Linked DNA regions of Homo sapiens: region 2 is linked to region 1. The links are contacts of gene promoters, found by promoter capture Hi-C in human tissues and cell types (Jung and others, 2019). All regions are on one chromosome and are shown on one strand. The core of a region is centred on a gene start or on the middle of the fragment in contact, and the rest is flanking DNA. Distances in the headings are between cores, read along the strand shown. Region 1 holds the start of PEX7 (peroxisomal biogenesis factor 7). Region 2 overlaps AHI1-DT (AHI1 divergent transcript).

Evidence for each region. Contacts are between HindIII fragments. The study calls those that stand out against the background at their distance.
Region 2: a contact is called between a fragment that was not itself captured here and the fragment with the promoter of PEX7 in region 1, in 1 of the 25 tissues and cell types used here (dorsolateral prefrontal cortex).

What each region holds. Positions count from the first base shown.
Region 1 is chr6:136,821,342-136,824,894 of GRCh38, reverse strand. PEX7 (peroxisomal biogenesis factor 7) reads right to left here and starts at 2,303. Exons shown (of 10, transcript NM_000288.4): 1 at 2,100-2,303. The coding sequence starts at 2,229. RefSeq lists enhancers at 1,693-1,852, 1,234-1,966, 1,967-2,699, 2,583-2,732 and a silencer at 2,023-2,402. The HindIII fragment of the contact is 8,253 bases long and covers 1-3,553 here.
Region 2 is chr6:135,510,215-135,513,767 of GRCh38, reverse strand. All of the region lies in intron 2 of AHI1-DT (AHI1 divergent transcript), which reads right to left. Among named protein-coding and RNA genes, the nearest start is that of AHI1-DT, 14 kb to the right of the region's middle. The HindIII fragment of the contact is 5,571 bases long and covers 1-3,553 here.

The DNA.
Region 1 (3,553 bases), core at 1,054-3,553:
CAGACAAGGCACCAGAGACACAAACCTTCCAAGTTGGTGTTATCATTCCTACTGACAGATGAGAAACCTCTGGCTTACAGACCCCAGGGACTGCACTCCTCACCAGTAAATCTAAAACACATCTCACACAGGATTTTAAAACAAAATATGAATGCGGAGATACTTGGTGGGATTTACTACATAACTGGTGGTAATAAAGTGCTGAAAACAGTATTAATATGTTACCTGTCAAAGATTATTTTACCAAAGGGCCATTGTATTTTAAAAGTTATGTTTACTTTTTATAGAGACCAAGGGGGAAAATCTCTTCTATTTAAACATGACTGAATTTTTTTTTTTAAATACCAATTCCCTTTAAAGAGTTTTTGCATAAGATTTTAAGTAGCATTACAGGCCAGTCACAGTGGCTCACGCCTGTAATCCCAGCACTTTGGGAGGCCAAGGCAGGAAGATCGCTTGCACCCAGTTCCGGACCAGCCTGGGCAACATAGTGATACCCTGTCTCTACAAAAATAAAAAATCAAAAATTAGCCAGGTGTGATGGTACATGCCTGTGGTCCCAGCTACTGGTGAGGTTGAGACAGGAGGATCATATGAGCCCAGGAGGTGGAGGCTACGGTGAGCTGTGATTGCACCACTCTACTCAACCTAGGCAACAGGGTGAGACCCTGTCTCTAAAGAGAAAAAGAAAAAAGAAAAAAAGAAAACTACTACCATTATAGACTCATGAGTCTTCAGTCTAACTGGTGGGCCATGTAAATCTGAATGTGCAAGCACTAAGAGCTAATAATGAAAATAAATCAAGTATTTCTCTGAGTTTTAGAAGTAACATTTTTTTCTGCTGTAGGACAAAACAAAAAAATACAATAGACCACTGACATTATGAAATGAGTTTTTGCATCTCGCTTCAGTGCGTATAATAGCTAGGACATGAATTAAGGCAAAAGCGAGAATGAACCTACGCCTTTTCATCTAGTCCACGGACTAGATGGACTCTTTTTTTTGAGACGGAGTTTTGCTCTTCTTGCCCAGGCTGGAGTGCAATGGCACGATCTCGGCTCACCGCAACCTCTGCCTCCTGGGTTCAAACTATTCTCTTACCTCAGCCTCCCGAGTAGCTGGGATTACAGGCATGCGCCACCACGCCCGGCTAATTTTGTATTTTCAGTAGAGATGGGGTTTCTCCATGTTGGTCAGGCTGGTCTGGAACTCCCGAACTCAAGTGATCCGCCCACCTCGGCCTCCCAAAGTGCTGGGATTACAGACGTGAGCCACCGCACGGCGCTTGGCCTTTTTTCTTTTTAAGACGGGGTCTCAGTCTGTCACCCAGGCTGGAGTGGAGTGATGTGATCTCAGCTCACTGGGCTGGGGCAGAGTGATGTGATCTCAGCTCATTGTAGCCTCAACATCCCGGGCTCAAGCGATCCTCCCGCCTCAGCCTCCTGAGCAGCTTTAACCACAGGCTGAGCCAATGCGCGCGACGGGAGACAATTAACTGGAGTCTGTAACACCTACTTGCGAATGTGTGCATTCCTCGTTAGACAACTACAGGTAAGAACTGAACTTGATATATTTCATGGTGTCACCCGTGGGACTCCAGGCGTCCATTCAGGAGCATCGTCCTTAGGAAGGCCAGCCCGCAGGTCGCAGCTCAGTGCTCGAATGCAGACTGGGAATTGTGGGCCAACTCGCGAGCCCTGGGTCGGTTCTGGCTCAGACCGTCTTCCCCGTACTGCTGTGCCGAGCGGACCGATCCAAGGGACCGCGCAGGCTCCCCCGGCTCTCCCTACGGGGACGTGTGCCTGGGCGTGTGACACGTGGCGGAGGCAGCGCGGTCTCAAGGAACAAGGACACGGGCTACTAGGCTACACGTATATGCACTTGCACACAACTGGAAGATCGACTCCTGCTTCAGACCAACTCCTCGCACTCGGCAAAGAAAGGAGAAGCGCCGACCAGCGCCTCTTCTGCCCCCTGGCGTGGACCCGCGGAACCGTCTACGCTCAGAGGGGCTTTCCCTCGAGCGCGAGGAACTGGAGCCCGGCTGGCCCCCGCCTCCGCCTCCGCCCCCCGGCCCCAGCTGCGCGGCGCCGCCTCACCCGCGATGCCGTAGTGCTGCGCGGTGGCGCAGGCCAGGCGGCCCGGCAGGTACGGGGAGAACTCGGCGGCGTAGCCGTGGCGTCCCGGCGTCCGCAGCATCCGCGCCGCTCCACCGCACACCGCACTCATCCCGCCCGCCGCCCCCGGCCCTCGCTGCCCCGGCCGCGGAAGCCGTTCCGAGTCGGAGGCACACTGGCGCGGTTAGAGAGACCAGGCAGACCGGACGGAAGTGTGGGCCCCGTGCCCTGTGTTTGAGATTCTGATTGGTCCGCACAGGAAAGGGCGTTGACTCCGACGGAGACCATTTTTGTTTTGGGTGAATCCAAACTGAATTGCGCCTGCTGCAAAGATACAGATCTATCAGGGGAGTGATCCAGGGTTAGGTATTATTAATAATTACGACAGCTTTTGTCGTTGCATCTCAGCCTCCTCTGCGGTGCTATCTGGTTTTTATTTCATTGAGCGTTTGGAAGACTGGCATCAGGAACTTTTCCTGATGATTATAAAGTGAGAAAAGTTACAGCCGACTCTGAAACCACGCAGCGCGTCCAAAATTGCGTGCTGCGTTGCCCAAGGAAACTGGAAGCAATGAGAACTTAAGTCCGTGGAGTCACTGCGGTCTTTAGGAATAAGAGCGTGGGCTGGTGGGCTACTTTCACACTGTAACTGGAAAAGATGAAACACCAACTCCAAACCAACTCCCCATGCTTGGCAAGTGAGAAAAAGGAGCTGGCCAGTTCTAATGAAGCTAAGCAAAAAAGCAGCACATCATCATATACAACTTTTTTAAAAAGTATTACTATACATGTATATATTGTATGGTAATAAGTGCTCAGATGCTGGTGCTCATTCATTCATTTATTGCCAGGCATATACTATGTGGAGAATGACCAAATATAATTTATCTGCCAAACCAAGATACTTTTGAGAGTAAAGAGGGTGTAATTATTAAGCCAGGTCAACAGGCACAAACCAAGTCGTATGATCATCTTAACCATATACCAAGAACAGTACTAGGCATTTGGGATTCAAAATAATGGGATATGGTCCATGGCCTCAAGAGATTAGAGAAGAAGACTAAAAGAGAAGTCATGTAATTAGTTAAGTGTAATCAAAATACTGTAGAGGCTATGATAAATTTATATGGGGTATTTTTAAAAGGTGATTGTCCGTGCCAGAGGTATGGAAATTGCAGGAAAGGCTGCAGAAGAGAGATAAGTCTTTATGGTGATTGCACACAGATGAGTAGGTTTTCTTTAGGTAGACAAGAAGATGGAGATCTTTGTAGGAGCAGGAATAACATGAGCAACCCAGGAGATTTAAACCAGCATGATCCATAGGGGGTCGTGGCTGCCAGGACTCAGCCTGGCCAGATGGAAGGGATACGGTGAAAAAAATATTGGGTGGGGAGACTGTAGAGTGTTTTACTGGGGCTAGATCATGAAGAGTCTTA
Region 2 (3,553 bases), core at 590-3,089, 1.3 Mb after region 1:
TTAGCTATAGGCACTACGCTGCACAGTAGATCTTCAGAACTTATTTATTTTGCATAACTGAAACTTTATGTTCTTTAATCATCACCTCCCCACTTCCCCCTTCCCCTAGTCCCTGGAAACCACTGTTCTAATCTTTGCTTTTATGAGTTTGACTATTTTAAATTCCATACATAAATGAGATCATATTTGTCTTTCTGTGTCTGGCTTATTTCACAGCATAATGCCCTCTAGGTCTATCCATGTTGTCACAAATGGCAGGATTTCCTTCTTTTTTAAGGCTGAGTAATATTCCATCGTATGTATAGACCACATTTTCTTTATCCATTCATCTGTCAGTAGACATTTAGGTTAACAACAAACCCTTGAACAACCAATAGGTCAAAGAAGACATCAAAAAAGAAATTTTAAAAACTTGAGACAAATGAAAATGAAAACACAGCATACCAAAACTTATGAGATGCTGCAAAATTAGTTTTAGGAGAGAAGTTTATAGAGATAAAGCCTGCTTTAATAATAATTTAGAATTTTGTCAAAGGCCTTTTCTGCATCTATTGAGATAATCATGTGGTTTTTGTCTTTGGTTCTGTTTATATGCTGGATTACATTTATTGATTTTCATATATTGAACCAGCCTTGCATCCCAGGGATGAAGCCCACTTGATCATGGTGGATAAGCTTTTCGATGTGCTGCTGGATTGCGTTTGCCAGTATTTTATTGAGGATTTTTGCATCAATGTCCTTCAAGGATATTGGTCTAAAATTCTCTTTTTTGGTCGTGTCTCTGCCCGGCTTTGGTATCAGGATGATGCTGGCCTCATAAAATGAGTTAGGGAGGATTCCCTCTTTTTCTATTGATTGGAATAGTTTCAGAAGGAATGGTACCAGTTCCTCCTTGTACCTCTGGTAGAATTCGGCTGTGAATCCATCTGGTCCTGGACTCCTTTTGGTTGGTAAGCTATTGATTATTGCCACAATTTCAGAGCCTGTTATTGGTCTATTCAGAGATTCAACTTCTTCCTGGTTTAGTCTTGGGAGAGTGTATGTGTGGAGGACTTTATCCATTTCTTCTAGATTTTCTAGTTTATTTGCATAGAGGTGTTTGTAGTATTCTCTGATGATAGTTTGTATTTCTGTGGGATCGGTGGTGATATCCCCTTTATCATTTTTTATTGCATCTATTTGATTCTTCTCTCTTTTTTTCTTTATTAGTCTTGCTAGCGGTCTATCAATTTTGTTGATCCTTTCGAAAAACCAGCTCCTGAATTCATTAATTTTTTGAAGGGTTTTTTTTTTTGCTGCTATTTCCTTCAGTTCTGCTCTGATTTTAGTTATTTCTTGCCTTCTGCTAGCTTTTGAATGTGTTTGCTCTTGCTTTCTAGTTCTTTTAATTGTGATGTTAGGGTGTCAATTTTGGATCTTTCCTGCTTTCTCTTGTGGGCATTAAGTGCTGTAAATTTCCCTCTACACACTGCTTTGAATGTGTCCCAAAGATTCTGGTATGTTGTGTTTTTGTTCTCGTTGGTTTCAAAAGGCATCTTTATTTCCGCCTTCATTTCGTTATGTACCCAGTAGTCATTCAGGAGCAGGTTGTTCAGTTTACATGTAGTTGAGCAGTTTGGAGTGAGTTTCTTAATCCTGAGTTCTAGTTTGATTGCACTGTGGTCTGAGAGACAGTTTGTTATAATTTCTGTTCTTTTACATTTGCTGAGGAGAGCTTTACTTCCAACTATGTGGTCAAGTTTGGAATAGGTGTGGTGTGGTGCTGAAAAAAATGCATATTCTGTTGATTCGGGGTGGAGAGTTCTGTAGATGTCTATTAGGTCCGCTTGGTGCAGAGCTGAGTTCAATTCCTGGGAATCCTTGTTAACTTTCTGTCTCGTTGATCTGTCTAATGTTGACAGTGGGGTGTTAAAGTCTCCCACTATTATTGTGTGGGAGTCTAAGTCTCTTTGCAGGTCACTCAGGACTTGCTTTATGAATCTGGGTGCTTCTGTATTGGGTGCATATATATTTAGGAGAGTTAGCTCTTCTTGTTGAATTGATCCCTTTACCATTATGTAATGGCCTTCTTTGTCTCTTTTGATCTTTGTTGGTTTAAAGTCTGTTTTATCAGAGACTCGGATTGTTAAAAACTCTCAATAAATTAGGTATTGATGGGACGTATCTCAAAATAATAAGAGCTATCTATGACAGACCCACAGCCAATATCATACTGAATGGGCAAAAACTGGAAGCATTCCCTTTGAAAACTGGCACAAGACAGGGATGCCCTCTCTCACCACTCCTATTCAACATACTGTTGGAAGTTCTGGCCAGGGCAATTAGGCAGGAGAAGGAAATAAAGGGTATTCAATTAGGAAAAGAGGAAGTCAAATTGTCCCTGTTTGCAGACGACATGATTGTATATCTAGAAAACCCCATTGTCTCAGCCCAAAATCTCCTTAAGCTGATAAGCAACTTCAGCAAAGTCTCAGGATACAAAATCAATATACAAAAATCACAAGCATTCTTATACACCAATAACAGACAAACAGAGAGCCAAATCATGAGTGAACTCCCATTCACAATTGCTTCAAAGAGAATAAAATACCTAGGAATCCAACTTACAAGGGATGTGAAGGACCTCTTCAAGGAGAACTACAAACCACTGCTCAAGGAAATAAAAGAGGATACAAACAAATGGAAGAACATTCCATGCTCATGGGTAGGAAGAATCAATATCGTGAAAATGGCCATACTGCCCAACGTAATTTATAGATTCAATGCCATCCCCATCAAGCTACCAATGACTTTCTTCACAGAATTGGAAAAAAACTACTTTAAAGTACATATGGAACCAAAAAAGAGCCTGCATCACCAAGTCAATCCTAAGCCAAAAGAACAAAGCTGGAGGCATCACGCTACCTGACTTCAAACTATACTACAAGGCTACAGTAACCAAACAGCATGGTACTGGTACCAAAACAGAGATATAGATCAATGGAACAGAACAGAGTCCTCTGAAATAATGCCGCATATTTACAACTATCTGATCTTTGACAAACCTGAGAAAAACAAACAATGAGGAAAGGATTCCCTATATAATCAATGGTGCTGGGAAAACTGGCTAGCCATATGTAGAAAGCTGAAACTGGATCCCTTCCTTACACCTTATACAAAAATTAATTCAAGATGGATTAAAGACTTAAATGTTAGACCTAAAACCATAAAAACCCTAGAAGAAAACCTAGGCATTACCATTCAGGACACAGGCATGGGCAAGGACTTCATGTCTAAAACACCAAAAGCAATGGCGACAAAAGCCAAAATTGACAAATGGGATCTAATTAAACTAAAGAGCTTCTGCACAGCAAAAGAAACTACCATCAGAGTGAACAGGCAACCTACGAAATGGGAGAAAATTTTCGCAACCTACTCATCTGACAAAGGGCTAATATCCAGAATCTACAATGAACTCAAACAAATTTACAAGAAAAAAACAAACAACCCCATCAAAAAGTGGGCAAAGGATATGAACAGACACTTCTCAAAAGAAGACATTTATGCAGCCAAA